Linked DNA regions of Homo sapiens: all the other regions are linked to region 4. The links are contacts of gene promoters, found by promoter capture Hi-C in blood cells and fetal thymus (Javierre and others, 2016). All regions are on one chromosome and are shown on one strand. The core of a region is centred on a gene start or on the middle of the fragment in contact, and the rest is flanking DNA. Distances in the headings are between cores, read along the strand shown. Region 1 overlaps NFATC3 (nuclear factor of activated T cells 3). Region 2 overlaps DUS2 (dihydrouridine synthase 2). Region 3 overlaps GFOD2 (Gfo/Idh/MocA-like oxidoreductase domain containing 2). Region 4 holds the start of PSKH1 (protein serine kinase H1).

The links. Contacts are between HindIII fragments. The CHiCAGO score rates a contact against its expected background, and 5 or more counts as called.
Region 1: a contact is called between a fragment that was not itself captured here and the fragment with the promoter of PSKH1 in region 4, in 1 of 17 cell types (neutrophils). The highest score is 5.4, in neutrophils.
Region 2: a fragment that was not itself captured here is called in contact with the fragment with the promoter of PSKH1 in region 4 in 6 of 17 cell types (total B cells, naive B cells, neutrophils and 3 more); the score reaches 7.7 in total B cells.
Region 3: a contact is called between a fragment that was not itself captured here and the fragment with the promoter of PSKH1 in region 4, in 1 of 17 cell types (erythroblasts). The highest score is 6.4, in erythroblasts.

What each region holds. Positions count from the first base shown.
Region 1 is chr16:68,093,324-68,097,806 of GRCh38, forward strand. All of the region lies in intron 1 of NFATC3 (nuclear factor of activated T cells 3), which reads left to right. Among named protein-coding and RNA genes, the nearest start is that of NFATC3, 10 kb to the left of the region's middle. RefSeq lists a silencer at 463-757. The HindIII fragment of the contact is 6,898 bases long and covers 1-4,483 here.
Region 2 is chr16:68,071,820-68,076,119 of GRCh38, forward strand. It overlaps DUS2 (dihydrouridine synthase 2), which reads left to right. Exons shown (of 17, transcript NM_017803.5): 13 at 2,215-2,336; 14 at 3,536-3,685. Among named protein-coding and RNA genes, the nearest start is that of NFATC3, 11 kb to the right of the region's middle. RefSeq lists an enhancer at 3,503-3,612. The HindIII fragment of the contact is 1,112 bases long and covers 1,391-2,502 here.
Region 3 is chr16:67,707,264-67,711,251 of GRCh38, forward strand. The region is part of intron 1 of GFOD2 (Gfo/Idh/MocA-like oxidoreductase domain containing 2); the gene reads right to left. Among named protein-coding and RNA genes, the nearest start is that of GFOD2, 10 kb to the right of the region's middle. RefSeq lists enhancers at 2,067-2,845, 2,846-3,623. The HindIII fragment of the contact is 2,912 bases long and covers 1,046-3,957 here.
Region 4 is chr16:67,890,884-67,894,702 of GRCh38, forward strand. It overlaps PSKH1 (protein serine kinase H1), which reads left to right and starts at 2,371. Exons shown (of 3, transcript NM_006742.3): 1 at 2,371-2,488. RefSeq lists silencers at 2,108-2,167, 2,498-2,617. The HindIII fragment of the contact is 6,871 bases long and covers 1-2,969 here.

The DNA.
Region 1 (4,483 bases), core at 828-3,327, 200 kb after region 4:
TTTCAAGCTAATTCAGTCCTTCCATTTTACAGGAGAGGAAATTGAGACTCAAATTGACCTGCCCAAGGTCATTTAACTGGTTAATATCAAAACAGAGACCCAGGACTTCTGACTCCTAGTCCTTTGGTCTTCTCCAGTAAGTTGCTTAATTTTTGCTTGAAAATCCTACATTTCCTTCTTGTGGATTAAAAACAAGAACAACAACAACAAAAATCCTACAGTTCTTTTTGCGCAACCTATAATTTTGATCATTTTGTAACTTTTTGTTTGTGATACATTAGATAAATATTTAATCCAGTGTTATTGAGTACCTATTATGTGCAAGGTATTTTTATGTGCATTATCTCATGATAACCTAGAGAGAGGTATTATTTCTATTTAGCGCATAAGGAAACAGAAATGCAGATGGATTTGACCATCTAGAAAGTGGAATTAGCTGGTATTTGAACTTTGGTTTTCTGACCTCAAATTTTGGGCCCTTTCTGCTATGCCTGCCTCTTGCCTTGCTATTCTCAGAAAGAGTTTAAGTACAGAAAGACTCAGTTTTTCCTATGGTGAAAGCAAGGGTCATGTTGGGCATATGGAATCAAACATATATGAGTCATGTCTTACAAATTACATGTGTTCCTGTGACTAGATTTTCTGCTTTGGGCTCAAAATAGCTACTTGAGGGATGCTTCTTATTCCTGCCTGCTCTAGGAAATTTTAAAGGGTAGCAGTGATACAGTTAGACCAATAGAGGGTACTGTATCGCTATATCGCTAACTGTGCTAGACCCAAATTTAGCTCTTTTGGGCCTTTTCTCTTTGCTGCTTTGTGGATCTGGAGGTCAAGAGGTGATATCATTTTAGGTTTTAAGGCAGTTTACTCTAAGGAGAAATTGGCCTTTGTCTTTGGCAGCCCCCCTCTCCGCCCATGTTGTCTTGATTAGGGTCTGATTTGTCATCTTGCAGGCTGTTTTGCTTTTAAAGTTTAAAGCGTTTAGATCTGTCGTCAAAATTGCCCTAAACCTGAATGAGGAAAAATTCAGAATTTTAAAAATGCTCAATAGTCAGGGTAGTTTCATTTTTCAAGGTTAACATTTTGCTTTCACATGTTCAAAAAAAAAAAAATGAGTACTATTTATTTGATTGAATTTAGGATGCAAGGAGAACTACCTTCTATAGCCACTAGGACTGATACACATTTTTTTCCTTGATATTTTGACCAATTTGCCATCTGCCATTTATTCTTCTCTCTCAAGATCAGTACTCTTTTGGATTTTCTCTCTCTCTTGTACATACCCAGTTGTCTCTGAGTTTCACCAGAACTCTCCCTTTGAGAGCAAAGGCAAGAAAGCTCTTTTGTCATACATGTTACCTAGTAAATGTTGGCTGATCATGGTTTTAGCACTTCTGTTGACTTTTTAATCATCCGATTACTATTTGAAATAAATAGTAAAATACTCTTAATCTTCTAGTTTAAATATATGCAAAATAGTTACATTTGGATTGATATTTGCTGAGGGGAAGGAATGAGACACGGATGCTGGCTTCACACAGCTCTTTTCTTTTTAAGAGTGACGAAGGACTTTTCCAGAAGCCTTCAGCAAACTTAACCTTGCGTTTCATTGACCAAAACTGGGTTACATTCCCTTTCCTAAATTAGTTACTGGTAAAGATGAGTGGAATTATTCTTAGCCAACCAGACCTATGCCTTGGCCTGAGGATATGGTTGGCTTCCCCAAAACACAAGGCTGCATGGGAGAGGAGTGGATAGAAGGATAGAAAATCTGTTAGGGAGGAAGAAAGAGAAAATGGATGCTGGGAGGGGGTCAACCAAAAGAATTGTCTGTGCTTACTATCCACAGTATTCTAGCAACTGAGGGACTTAAAAAAAATTTTTTTTTTTTGAGAGAGAATCTCACTCTATTTCCCAGGCTGGAGTGCAACCTCTGCCTCCTGGGTTCAGGTGATTGTGATGCCTCAGCCTCTCAAGTAGCTGAAGTAGCTGGGATTACAGGTGTGCACCACATGCCCAGCTAATTTTTTTTTTTTTTTTTTTTTTTGAGACAGAGTCTCACTCTGTCACCTAGGCTGGAGCACAGTGGCACAATCTCTGCTCACTGCAACTTCCACCTCCCAGGTTCAAGTGATTTTCCTGCCTCATGCCTCCCAAGTAGCTGGGATTACAGATGTGTGTCACCGTGCCTGGCTAATTTTTGTATTCTTAGTAGAGACAGGGTTTCACCATGTTGGACACGCTGGTCTTGAACTCCCTACCTCAGGTGATCCGCCTGCCTCGGCCTCCCAAAGTGCTGGGATTATAGGCATGAGCCCCTGTGCCCAGCCAGTTGAGGGACTTTATAATGTAAACCTGACTTTTGTTATGCAGTTACTTTCTCTGGCACTTGCTTTTTCTTTTGCTTTGTCAGAGTCCTTGGGGATGGGCATGGGAGTTGATAGAGGTGCCAAGAAAGAGAAGTATGGCTATTGATCCTGGATTAATAACAGTGGGGTTGGTGTCTTGATGGGTGGGAGATCTGGGACACAAAATTCATTTTTGTTGTGTGGTTCAGGTGGAACCTGATGATTATGCAGACATACAGAAGCATAAAGACAGTGTCAAATCTGATTTGTCAAAATTGAGATAGTAAAGTGTTTTTTAAATGCTTATTTTATTTTATTTCTTAAAATTTATTTTGAGACAGGGTCTCACTTTGTTGCCCAGGCTGGAGTTCAGTGGCTCAATCATAGATCACTGCAGTCTTAACTCAGCCTCCCAAGTAGCTCAAACCACAGGTGCTTGCCACCATGCCCAGCTAATTTTTAAAAATTGTTTTTGATAGAGACGGAGTCTTTCTGTGTTGCCCAGGCCAGTCTCAAACTCCTGGGCCTGAGCAGTCCTCCCACCTTGGCCTCCCAATGTACTGGGATTACAGGTGTGAGCCACCATGCCCACGCTAAAAATTCTTTTTAAAGTGCTTTGTTTCATTCTTTCGAAGGCTCATCTGAAAGAAACTAGCTGTTGTTAAAGGATAAAATAGAAGAATATGTAGAAGAAGAGAAAGTAGTAACCAGAGGGGAACATTGTATGAGATCTTAGAGTAACTGAGCTGGAAGGGACCTCAAGAAAGTCCTCTTCCATTAAGTGGGTAAATATACTAAATCATTTAATCTTTTAATTAAGTTTTGTTAAGTGTCAGTATTATTATGTGCCAAATACTGGTAATACAAATTAAATATAATTCAGTCTATTGGAGTAGACATATAAATGACTACAACAATATTAATATAACAGAGGTACGGAGAAGGGCCTCTGAGCATATAATGACACAGATTAACTCTGAGTAGAGAGGTCAGAGAAGAGTACAGTTGAGCAGAATCCAGTGGGATGAGTTCACCAGGTGGCTAAGGGAGGACATAACATTTCAGGCCAGCCGATTATCACACCCAAAGACAGGTTAAAGAGCATGGTCCTTTAATTTGGAAAGTGGAAGATCAGGATTCTGTTGTGTCCAGATGTGGCTGGAGAGGGACAGACTATTATACTGTATTGAGGAGTTTGGATTTTAGTTTGAAGACAGCAGGGAGCCATTGAAGGATTTCAAATTGGGCAGAAATGTCAGATTTGTAGCTCCATCACTCTACTATACTGTGGGTAATAGATTGAAGAAGACAGGAATGGAGGTGGGGACACATGTATTTGAGAAATGATAAGGGTAGAGCAGTGAAGACGACAAAGTGGGAATAGTGCTCAGATAGATTTACAGGAAAGAAATCAATAGGACCTGGTATCCATTGAGTAAGGAAAGGGAAGGAGGCAGGATTATTTCTATTTTTCTAGTTTGGGTCAGTTGTGGTAGGAGAATTAGCTTTGGAGGTGGGGAGGGAGAAAGGTGATTCATTTTAATAAAATGTGCTATTACAAAATGTCTGTGGAAATAGTGGTGAACAAGACATGGCCCTTGCCTTCATGAAGTGCACAGTCTAGTAATTATTAATGTAACTAGTGTCATGAAAATACAAAGTGCAAAGTATAAAGTGCAATGAGAGTATATAGTAAAAAGGAGTTCAGTTTTGTGTATGTCTAGTTTGAAGCATCTGTAGATTTATTAGGCAATTGGAAATATAAGTGTAGAGCTCAAAAGAGAAACTTGCACAAAAGAGATTTGAAAGTTATTGGTCTATAGATATTGATGATAGTTGAAGTCATGGGCATGGATGAAGTCACTGCAACAGAGTGTGGATTATAATGTGAAAAGGAGGCTGAGAACAGGACTCTGGAAACAACAGTATTGCAAGGATGGCAAGGAGAGAAGTCTGAGAAGATACTGTCACAGAGTTAAATTAGACAATCAAGAGAATGGTGTAGGGAAAGCCAAGGCAGAAGAGGGTTTTATCTATTTCAACAGCTTTATTGAGGTAAAATTGACATTTAATAAACAACATATTTAAAGTGTACAGTTTAAGTTTTGACACATGTAGAGACCCATGAAACTTTT
Region 2 (4,300 bases), core at 697-3,196, 180 kb after region 4:
ATAGAGATGAGGTCTCCCTATGTTGCCCAGGCTGGGAATGGCCTTTTCTAAACCAGTTTCTTCTCATTGAGAGGTTGATGGTAGTGCCAAGGGCATATCCCTATAAAAGAAAATGAAGAGTTCACTTGCCTTATCTCTTTGGCACAACCCTGGAACTCTGTGGGACTCTGATCAGCTGCACATGTCTGCAGGGAGAGACAGTGAGTGGTCCTCAAATTCTTCAGTGAATTGGGTCTGAACAGAGGGTGCAGTCTTTGCCCAGAGCAGAGTTCCACCCTCCTCTTCAGTCCTAGGGTTCATACCTGCCTAGGAGTGCCTGTGGCTGCCATGGTATGTGAGTGTTTCCATGGCTGTGCAAGCTAGGATGGTAAGATGCCCTGAGGTCTGCGTCCAGAGCTGGGCAGCCTTTGTCCTATTTCCTGTTCAATGCTGCAGCCCTCACTCCCTGGTTCTGGTGTCCTGCTGGGCAAGTTGGTGACCACCAGCTCTCCAATGGTCTGGGATAGCTCCATGGCAAGGGAGGGCTTGCCCCAGCCCAGGTCAGCTATCCAGCTTTTTGGCCAGCTGGCAAGTCTGGCCAAGAAGACGTGCTGAACAGTGCTGAGCTTGCTCACTGGGTGAAAGGTGATATTATCATTCCTGCTGAGCCATCTCTTGGCAGCTCCTCAAGAGGGTGTGCTATCACAGAGAAAGGGAGCGGCTTTCAAGCATAGGCAGGGCTGCTTCTGGTCCAGCCAGGTGCCTTCTTCCCAGACAAGCTGAGTCAAGGACTTGCCACCAGCCGGGGCGCCCCGACTTACTTCCCACTTTGTCCTGAGCGTGCCGTGGCACTTTCCCAGCCACTGAAGTCATAGGCCCACGTGGAGTTACTAGAGCAGCATAGGGGGTGGGGGATGGGAGGGTGTCCTGGAGGGCTGGGGAAGGCCACCTTCACCCAATACTGCTCTCCTGCCCTACCTCTAGCCAGCCGACTTCCACTGGGTGTCCCAGGCAGTCAGTCATCTTGCCTCCCTGAGCCTTCATTTCACGGTCTGTGGAGTGATGGTGACAGTTGCACCTCACACTTGTATAGATAAATGTAGTCATGAGTAACCCATGTGAACTAAATGATGCTGTGTTTTACCCACGTAGGGGGAAGTTAGAGGCTATTCAAGATGTGGGAAGGGAAGGTGCCCATTCTGGTTAGAAGGAATAGAAGAATCTCACCCCTTTCCTGGCACTGGACCTGCCATGCCAGAATTTGGTGTGTTTCCCCTCCCTTCCCTGGAAGATACTTGGCAGTAGGTCCTCTGTGGTGGCTGAAGCAGGAAGGGGCTCCCGCACTTCGAGACCTCAGTCAGGCTGTCCAGGAGAATGTGTTTCTGACCGTGGTCCTTGGCTGTGACCCTCAAGCTTTGTACCACTAGCTGGAAGAGTAGATGACCAAGGTCGAAGTGGCTTTTTAATTTATTTTTATTTTTATTTTTAATTTTAGATAGGGTCTCAGTCTGTTGCCCAGGCTGGAGTGCAGTGGCATGATCATAGCTCACTACAGCCACAACTCCTGGGTGCAAGCAATCCTCTTGCCTTAGCCTCCCTAGTAGCTATGGCTACAGGTGTGTGCCAACATGCCTGGCTAATTTTCTTTTTCTTTTTTTTTTTTTTTTTGAGACAGAGTTTTGCTGTTGTCGCCCAGGCTGGAGTGCAGTGGCACGATCTTGGCTCACCGCAACCTTCGCCTCCAGGGTTCAAGCGATTCTCTTGCCTCAGCCTCCCGAGTAGCTGGGATTACAGGCACCCGCCACCACGCCCAGCTAATTTTGTATTTTTAGTAGAGACGGGGCTTCACCATGTTGGTCAGGCTGGTCTTGAACTCCTGACCTCAGGTGATCCGCCCGCCTTGGCCTCCCAAGGTGCTGTGATTACAGGCGTGAGCCACCGTGCCCAGCCGATAATTTTCTTTTTTTTAATTTTTGTAGAGTTGAGTCTTACGTTGCCCAGGCTGCTCTTGAACTCCTAGCCTCAAGCAGTCCTCCTGCATTGGCCTCTCAGAGTGCTGGGATTACAGATGTGAGCCACTGCTCCTGGCCAGTGGTGGTTCTTCTTATGGGGGTCACATTGCCTTGGCTACACATACATCTCTGGTGCCTTCTTGGAGCTCCTTTCCCTGCCATCAGAGCATAGCCCAGGCCTTAGAGCCTGCCTGGGCATCAGGCAAGTCATTTCTTTTCTCAGGCGGTGCAGTATGACAACCACTACACCAACACCAAGTACTGCTTGTGCCAGATGCTACGAGAACAGCTGGAGTCGCCCCAGGGAAGGTTGCTCCATGCTGCCCAGTCTTCCCGGGAAATTTGGTAAGAGGCACAATAAGATGTCCATCTGTCCTTGTACGCATTGCCCAAGTTTGACTTTGAGCCCTAAGCTGACTCCACCAGGGGACCAGGGACACAGCTTCTGGATGTAGATGTAGAGGAGTGGAGTGATGGTACAGCTTTGCCTCCCAGGAGGGGATTCTTTGAAAGCTTTGAAACGTCCCATCCCTGGACGGATCAGCAGAGCTCTGGGAACTAGGGTACTAGAAGGATAGAGGAATGCAAAGGAAGGGGATTTTCCATAAATGGGATAGTCACAGGCCAGGCCCCCAGGAACCAGTGGTCAGGAGAATTGGGCTGTAGCATGGAGCCTCTACCTTGAGCCTGCACTCACATCCATCACCCTGCAGTTTGAGAGACCACCTGTTGATTCTCTAGATCAGGTGCAGCTCTAGCTCAGATGGTTGACAGTTGAGGCCCTTCACAAGCTGGCCTAGCCACTGCCCCCACAGCTCCCTGTCTACCTGTCTGCTTCCAGAACTCCACACCTGTGCTTGTAATGGGTCGTCTGCCTGGAAGGCTCTCTCCCTCTCACGTGAGCTATCTGTAGCCTCCCTCTTACATAGATGCCTTTCTGAACCACTTTTGCCATTGGGGATCTATCTTCGTTTGAGTCTTCCAGCCTTCAAGATGTTTCCTAGAAGGGAAAAACCTTTGCCAGAGCCCTCTTCCCACCCTTGGCTTATGGCATTGGTTCAGTCCCTACCCCACATAACTCTGTAGCTCTGGGTGGTGCCTCAGTGTCAGCTGAGACCCATGTATAACTGCCTGTGGCTGGGCGGGAAGTGGGGAACCACTTAGTGGTCAGGCCTCTGTCTCTTCCTCCCATGGGCCCATGTGCTTGATCAGCATTGGTTAACTCAGTCACGGCTGGCTGGGGATACCATCTGTGTGCTTCCCCTCAGGAGAGAGGCTGCAGGTGGTGGGGGTGACCTTTACAACCTTTGCCACCCAGCCCAGCCTCCCTCCAGTGTCCACGCTTGGGTTCACATTCACTTTCCATCTTCCAGTCCACAGTAATCCCAGGGCTGGGCAGGGGGCACATTCTGATGGCCAGGCCCCGGTGGTGTTTTGGTGTATGTGGTAGAGGAGTTTCTCAGTGGTGGGGCCCTGGGGTCCTGCAGTACCCTGGATGCTGGCTCCGCTAAAGTGTTTGCTCTGATCTGCTTCTTCCTCCCTAGTGAGGCCTTTGGCCTTGGTGCCTTCTATGAGGAGACCACACAGGAGCTGGATGCCCAGCAGGCCAGGCTCTCAGCCAAGACTTCAGAGCAGACAGGGGAGCCAGCTGAAGATACCTCTGGTGTCATTAAGATGGCTGTCAAGTTTGACCGGTAGGTCTCCAGCTTGGCCTCAGCTTGGGCTAGGGCCAGCACCCTTGGGGTCCCACTGGGCCAGCACACTGGCTGCTGTATGTGCTTAATGTCAAACGTAGGGACCACAGGTCTTGTTGGTTTGGAAACTCGTTCTAAATTTTCAGCATCCCATAGAAGGTGCTTTCAGGGGAGATAGTCCCTGAAAGGCTGTCCCAAGGATAACTGAACTCTACTTTTTCCCTGATTTACCGCCTCCCACAACTCAGGGCAGGGGGGACTTGTCTCCTGTTCCTGAAAGTCTGTGCTTTTCCAAGGCCCTGAGGAACTGGCTCCTGGCATGAAGCTCCTCAAACAACAGCAGGACCCTAGCCCTCATTTGGCTCTGCAGCCCCTACCCACACCCAGTGCCCCTCACCAGCTCTGTGGTGCTCTCTCAAGCTGCTTACGCCTCAGATTGTGACTCAGCTTTGAATGGTGCCCTCCTCTGGGATCTGAGCCTTTCTCCAGTCCCCAGGACCAGACAGGAGCCAGTCTTGTCTGGCAGAGGTGTGGAGAGGGGGAGCAGGGTGGTGGGGAATAGCTGTTGGGCAGTCAGATGCCAGGGAGAGTTCCAGTTGGGAAGTTGGAATATGA
Region 3 (3,988 bases), core at 1,252-3,751, 180 kb before region 4:
AGGAGAATTGCTTGAACCCAGGAGGCGGAGGTTGCAGGGAGTGAAGATCGCGCCATTGCACTCCAGCCTGGGCCACAGAGTGAAACTCCATTTCAAAAAAAAAAAAAAAAGACTTACAATCCTGAAGTTTGGAGAGGATATGCGGCAAATGGAACTCCCATACATTCTTGGTGGGAATGTAAAACAGTACAACCACTTTGGAAAATTGACAGTTTCTTATAGTTAAACATATATCAACCCAATCACAGCAACTCCACTTATAGATATTTATCTAAGAAAATAAAAACATAAGTCCACAAAAAAAATTATACAAATGTTCACAGCAGCCTTATTCATAATGGCCCCACACTAGAAACAAATGTTCACATCATAAATTATGATGTCACACAATGGAATACAGTAAAACAGTAAAAAGGAATTAACTATTAATGAATTTTTTTCTTTTTAAAAATTTTATTAATTTTTTTGTAGAGATGTGAGTCTCACTGTGTTGCCCAGGCTGGTCTCAACCTGCTGGCCTCAAGTGATCCCCCTGCCTCAGTCTTCTAAAGTGCTGGGATTACAATGAACCACCTCGCCTAGCCTGTATGAATCTTAAAAACATTATGTAGAGTGAAAGATGGCAGGCCCACACACAGAAGACCCATACTGTAGAATTCCACTTTTTTGAAATTCAGGAATAAGCCAGCCTTATTTATAGCAACACTAGTCAGAAGGCGGCAGTGGCGGTGGTGGCTGAGGCGGAGGGAATCGAACAGAAAGAGGCACAAGGCTACATTCTAGAGTGATGGAAATGTTCTGTATCTTGTTTGGTGCTTGGGTTACATGGTGGTACAACTGTCAAAACTCATCAAATTGAATATTTAAGATCTGTGTTTTTAATTGTATGTAAATTATACCTTAATTTTTAATCACCTTAAGTAGTTGTGCCCAAGGACATAGAACAACCTGTTCACACCTTGCAAATTCAGTTCTGTAATCAAACTAAATGGATATGTGTGAATTAGAAGTCTCTTTCCTTTAAAACAAAACAAAAAAACCTGTAAGCTTACTTTTGGGGACATCATCGGTACAGGCTGGGGCCAAGAGAATAAGTTTTCTGAGAAAGAAACTTCAAGCTAAGGCCCAGTAGGCTGGTGAATCCCAGCACTTGCTGAGCGTATCTGAAGATGGCACTTTTCCCTGGGCAGTGTGTCACACTGGGTGAGTGGCTGAGCTCCAGATGTTAGGAAGTCCTCACCACTCATGAACAACTCATACTGAGGAAGGGAGGGTTCAAAAGGGGTTCTCCCGTATCATTTCTGGCAAGCAAATTTAATGATGGCTATTCATAGAGCATTGGTATGTATCAGTTTGCAGTTGTAGCTATACAGGTTGGGCAATAAGACTTGGCACTGAAAGAGTGGCAAGCCCTCACTTAGTGTCAGCCTCCACTGTGCCTCAAGGGCCACTCACCATGAGACTAGCCCCAGATCCAGCCCCACACCTTCCAGAGCACTGCATCCTGAGAGGCACCTCCACAGACTTGATGCACACCTCTGTCCCCTCAGGCACATTCCAAAAGGCCAGTGTCAAGACCCATACTGTAGAATTCCCTTTATTTGAAATGCAAATAAGACTCATTTGATAATTTGATTTTTCTGTGAATTCTTTTCAGTAATTTCATCCTAATATAAAGCACTGGGGCCAGAGGTGAGGGTCACGGCCCTAGTTATGAAGTGAGACAGATCCTCAACCTAACTTAAAACAAACTGTAGGGCTGAGAGCAGTGGCTCACACCTGTAATCCCAGGACTTTGGGAGGCCGAGGCAAGTGGATCACTTGAGCCCAAGAGTTTGAGACCAGCCTGGGCAACATGGCAAAACTCCTTCTCCACAAAAAATACAAAAATTAGCTAGGCATGGTGGCACAAACCTGTAGTCCCAGCTACTCAGGAGAGGAGACTGGGGTGGGAGGATCTCTTGAGCCCAGTAGGTCAAGGCTGCAGTGGGCTGTGATTGCACCACTGTACTCCAGCCTGGGCAACAGAGCCTATCTCAAAAGAAAAAAAAAAAAAAGATTGGGACATTAGCTAGGCTGATTAGGTGTTTTAGGTGCTTGTGTATAAAATGACACCTGTAATTTATGTAGATTGATTAATAAATACTTATTAAGCACAGACTATGAGCCAGGCCTCAGCAAAGTGCAGGATACTTCAGTAAGCCAAACAGATATAGTTTCTGCTTGCAAAGAGTGTACAGTCTAGGAGGAGAGATAAGATAATCAAATAATCACATAAATATGTAATTATGATTTGAGATTAAATGCTATAAAGGAAAAGAATGGTGCTATGAGAGACTCAGCAGGATATAAATTAGCCTTATTATTATTATAATGGAGTCTCACTCTGTCACCAGGCTGGAGTGCAGTGGCATGATCTCAGCTCACTGCAACCTCTGCCTCCTGGGTTCAAGCATTCCTCCCACTTCAGCCCCCTGAGTAGCTAGGACCACAGGCACATGCCACCACACCCAGCTATTTTTTTTGTATTTTTGGTAGAGACGGGGTTTCCCATATTGCCCAGGCTGGTCTTGAGGCTGGTATTCAACTCTTGTCCTCAAGTGATCCGCCCGTCTCAGCCTCCCAAAGTGTTGGGATTACGGGCGTGAGCCACCGTGCCCAGCCAAATTAGCCTTATGTTTATCTATTTTTTATTTTTTGGGGACAGAGTGTCACTCTGTCACCCAGGCTGGAGTGCAGTGGTGCACTCTTGGCTCACCACAACCTCTGTTTCCTGGGTGCAAATGATTCTCCTGCCTCAGCCTCCCGAGTACCTGGGATACAACTGTGAGCCACGACACCCAGCTAATTTTTTTTGTATTTTTATTTATTATTTTTTTAGAGACAGGGTCTTGCTCTGTTGGTCAGGCCGGAGTGCAGTGGGGCGATCATAGCTTACTGTAGCCTCGAACTCCTGGGCTCAAATGATCCTCCTGCCTAGGCCTCCCAAAGTGCTGGGATTATAGGCATGAGCCACCACGCCAGCCCTGTATTTTTAGTAGAAACCGGGTTTCACCATGTTGGCCGGGCTGGTCTCAAACTCCTCACCTCAAGTGATCTGCCCGCCTTGGCCTCCCAAAGTTAGCCTTTGTTTTTTGAGACGAAGTGGAGAAGTGCAGTGGTGCGATCTCAGCTCACCGCAAGCTCCGCCTCCCGGGTTCACGCCATTCTCCTGCCTCAGCCTCCCGAGTAGCTGGACTACAGGCGCCTGCTACCATGCCCGGCTAATTTTTTGTTTTTTAGTAGAGACGGGGTTTCACCGTGTTAGCCAGGATGGTCTCGATCTCCTGACCTCGTGATCCACCCACCTCAGCCTCCCAAAGTGCTGGGATTACAGGCATAAGCCACCGCGCCCGGCCAGTTAGCCTTATTTTTAAAAGTGTTCAATGACAGATTTATAATGCACTTTGAGTTCCACGTGAGAAAGGTTTCACACTCTGAGGCTCAATTACGATAAAAACACTGACATTGTGAGTCATTTTCTATCCACTGACCCCTACCCTGCTCCTTGACTATCAATCCCCACTTGCTGTGCTCTATTCAGAGTTGAGCTCAGTCTCTCTCCCCAACTGCAAGACTCATTGCAGAGGTACCTATACCTGCCGCCATGGTCCTGAATAAAGTCTTCATCACCATGAAAAAAACCCAAACATTGACATTGGTTGTGCAGTAAAAGGCACAGCAGCCCAATGTCATTAAAAACCCAATTTGTGATTAACAGACACTCCCCTTCCCCAGAGCAGTAACCAGACCCAAAAGCATTTCTTCAGAATGAAGACTCCAAAAGAGGTAGGAAGGAAAAGTACAATGTTCAGAACTTCAAACTGCAATTATGCAACTCTCTCATGATGCTCTGTGTTCAGGCATCATGGCTGAAAACCCTGGATTATTGGTTGTAAATCATACTACAAATAACCAAGCTTCAGCTATCTCATCTTTGTCAAATACA
Region 4 (3,819 bases), core at 1,121-3,620:
ATCCCTTGAGCCTAGGAGTTCGAGGTTACAGTGAGCTTTGATTGCTGCCATGCACTCCAGCCTGGATGACAGAGCAAGACCCTGTCTCTATTAAAAAAATTAAAAAGGCCAGGTGCAGTGGCTCACGCCTGTAATCCCAGGATTTTGGGAGGCTGAGGCCAGTGGATCACCTGAGGTCAGGAATTCAAGACCAACCTGGCCAAAATTTAAAAAATAAAATGAGGCTGATGAGGCAGATGTCTTGCTTAAAGTCAAACAGCTCTGGAAGTGTCAGAGCTGGGATTTGATCCCAGGTATGTTTGGCACCAAAGTCTATACCCTTAATTATTGCACTAGACTTTTGGAAACAATTTTTTAACTTTTTTTTTTTTTTGAGATGGAGTTTTACTCTTCTCGCCCAGGCTGGAGTGCAATGGCGTGATCTCGGCTTACTGCAACCTCTGCCTCCCAGGTTCAAGCAATTCTCCTGCCTCAGCCTCCCAAGTAGCTGGGATTACAGGCGCCTGCCACCACGCCTAGCTAATTTTTGTATTTTTGGTAGCAATGGGGTTTCACCATGTTGGCCAGGCTGGTCTCCAACTCCTGACCTCAGGTGGTCTGCTCACCTGGGCCTCCCAAAGTGCTGGGATTACAGGCGCGTGAGGCACCGCGCTGGGCCACCATTGTTCTTTTTAAATGAAATCTTGTAAGAAACCTTACTACGGCTGGGCATGGTGGCTCACGCCTGTAATCCCAGCACTTTGGGAGGCCGAGGCGGGCGGATCACGAGGTCAGGAGATCGAGACCATCCTGACTAACATGGTGAAACCCCGTCTCTACTAAAAATACAAAAAATTAGCTGGGCACAGTGGTGGGCGCCAATAGTCCCAGCTACTCGGGAGGCTGAGGCAGGAGAATGGCGTGAACCCAGGAGGCGGAGCTTGCAGTGAGCCGAGACTGCGCCACTGCACTCTAGCCTGGGTGACAAAGCGAGACTCTTTCTCAAAAAAAATAAAAATAAAAATAAAAATAAAAATAAAAATAAAAATAAAGAAAATTAACCGGGCATGGTGGCAGGCGCCTGTAATCCCAGCTACTCGGGGAGGCTGAGGCAGGAGAATTGCTTGAACTTGGGAGGCAGAGGTTGCAGTGAGCCGAGATTGTGCCATTGCACTCCAGCCTGACAACAAGAGCGAAACTCCATCTCAGGAAAAAAGAAAAGAAAGAAACCTTACTACATAAAATAGACAACAATTTTTTTTTTTTTTTTGAGACGGAGTCTCACTCCATCGCCAAGGCTGGAGTGCAGTGGTGCAATCTCAGCTCATTGCAACCTCTGTCTCCCAGGTTGTAGCTATTCTCCTGTCTCAGCCTCCCGAGTAGCTGGGACTACAGGAGCCTGCCACCAAGCCTGGCTAATTTTTGTATTTTTAGTAGAGACAGGGTTTCACCTTGTTGGTCAGACTGGTCTCAAACTCCTGACTTCAGGTGATCCACCTGCCTTGGCCTCCCAAAGTGCTGGGATTACAAGTGTGAGCAGTGGCGCCCAGCCGACGACAATGTTTTATTGGTGTTAATTTATTTTTAGGTTTAAAGTATAACATTAGCTTATACAGTCAATCAAAGACAGTTCCATGTGCAAAGTACATACTCAATAAAGATTTGAATACAGAGCTACTGAAATGGGGAAGATGGATGGAGGTTACAATGCACTTACCATCTGCAGCACCTATTTTAACCCCTCCAAGTTGGGTTGACTGTAAAGTGAACCAGTTCTGATCCTATAGAGAAGTCATTGTGAATGGTAACAATTTTTTAAAAATCCGCTTGCTTTTCAGACTCGGCATATAAATTAAATTAACAACAACAAATAACCATGAGTCCAGAAGTTGGCCCAAGATTGACTTCACCTATCTACAAATTAACCCTTTGCATCTCTTCTTTGATGGAGGCCAAATTCAACACATGGAGTGTTGAAATTATTCTAAGTGCAGTTTTAAAAAATAGATTTTGTTAATGAAAATTAAGTCTATCCTTTGCGGAGTTCCAGAGGCACTTCCAGAAACCTCTGTTGGAAAGCATTGTTTACCCAAGCTCGCATTACAGAGTCCCCTTTCCCCCAACCAGAAACTTGAAACTTTCTCCCTATTTCCCGCGATCCTTCCTTTTTCTATCACCGACCCGTCTCGCAGGCAGCGGTCAAGTTACTTTGAGCGACAAATAGACCCACCCCTTCAGGAGAGTGCCCGTCCCCGCCCCGAAGAGGTTGATTGGCAGGCCACGCTCGGAGATCCGCCAGCCGCGTAGCCCAGTTTCGGGAGAGTCCGCCCCCGACCCGCCCCCGACCCGCCCCGTAGGCTTGTTTTGGCGTCAGCTGCGCGCTGTGATGACGCCACGACGCTAACGCCCGAGAATGGCGGCGGCGGCGGCGGCGGCGGCGGCCGCTGCCATTGCCCGGAGATGGCCGGCAGAGCCGCCGAGACGCCGAAGAGCCCGCCGCCCGCGCGAGGTGAGGCGGCCCGGCCCAGGACGACGGCCCGACGGGCGGGAGGGGCAGCCGAACTGTGGTCGTGGTCGCTTTCTGGCGCTCCGGGGCCTGCCCCTGGTCAGCCTGCAGCGTCGGCCCGTGCCCCGTGCGCCAGGGCCTACAGGGTTGGAGAGCAGGCCGGGCGATGGCTGCTCGGGTTCCCGGCGTCCGAGTCTGGACTGGCCTCGGAACGTGCTGTCGTGCTGGATAGCCCGTCTCCAGGCCCGCTTGGGCCTGGTGGACGTGGTCGGTTGCCCTGCCTGCTTGCTGTTCAGCCGCCCCGCGTCCAGAGCGGGTCAGGTTGATCCAACCTGGTTGTCCTTGTCCTTACTGCCTTCTCGCGCCCGGCGCCTACTCCACACCCCTCCTTTGCGTCTGCCAGGGGCCGGCGGGGCAGCTGATCGCTTCCTTGTGCAGGCTGGGAAATAGCAGGTCTGAGTCCAGCTGGGTTGCTTGCTTGGCAAGCTTGTCATTCCTCTACCTGCAAGGGGAAGCCTAGTCCCCCACACTTAGTCCCCCTCCATAAAGCGGCTGAAGTGATAATTCCCACCTGAAAATCTGAGTAAGTCCTTCACTGCCTGAAACTAGTTCCTTAGTGCCTTCAGGACAAAGGCCGCACTTCTTAGCAAGGCATTCAGGGCTCTTCGTAATCTGGTGAAGGTTTAACCAGCCAATCAACACCGGAGCACTTCTGTGCTCCCTTTACGTAGTTTATTGTTGTTAAAACGTGTGGCGCTCCTGTTAGCTCTGGTTTCATACCTTTGTGTTTTAGTATTACTAATTTTGAGACAAGGCCTCTATTGCCCAAGCTGGAGTGCAATGGCTCATTCATAGCTCACTGCAGCCTTGAACTCCTGGACTCAAATGATCCTCCCGCCTCAACCTCCCGAGTAGCTGAGACAAGAGGCACTCCCCTCCACGCCTGGCTAAGTTTAAAATTTTTTGTAGAGCCAGGGAGTCTGGCTTTGTTGCCAGAGCTGGCTTCAAGAGACCCTCCTGCCTAGGCTCCTAACATATTGAGATTATTAATACAAGCGTGAGCCACTGTGCTTGGTCCCCTTGTGCTTTAGATAACGCAGTTTTCTCAGTTTGCTATACACTGCCTTCCACCCCACCGACCACCTACCAGTGTTGGAAACTTACATCTGTCCTATAAAATCCACCTGAGATGTCACTTCCTAGGAAAAAAATCTACCTTGCTTGGCATGTAACCATTAACTCCTCTATATCCATGCTGCTACTATTGAGTACATCCTGTTGTGTCACATGGTGGTCTTCTGTCTGCATATGTCTGGCTCTGTGCCTGGCATAAA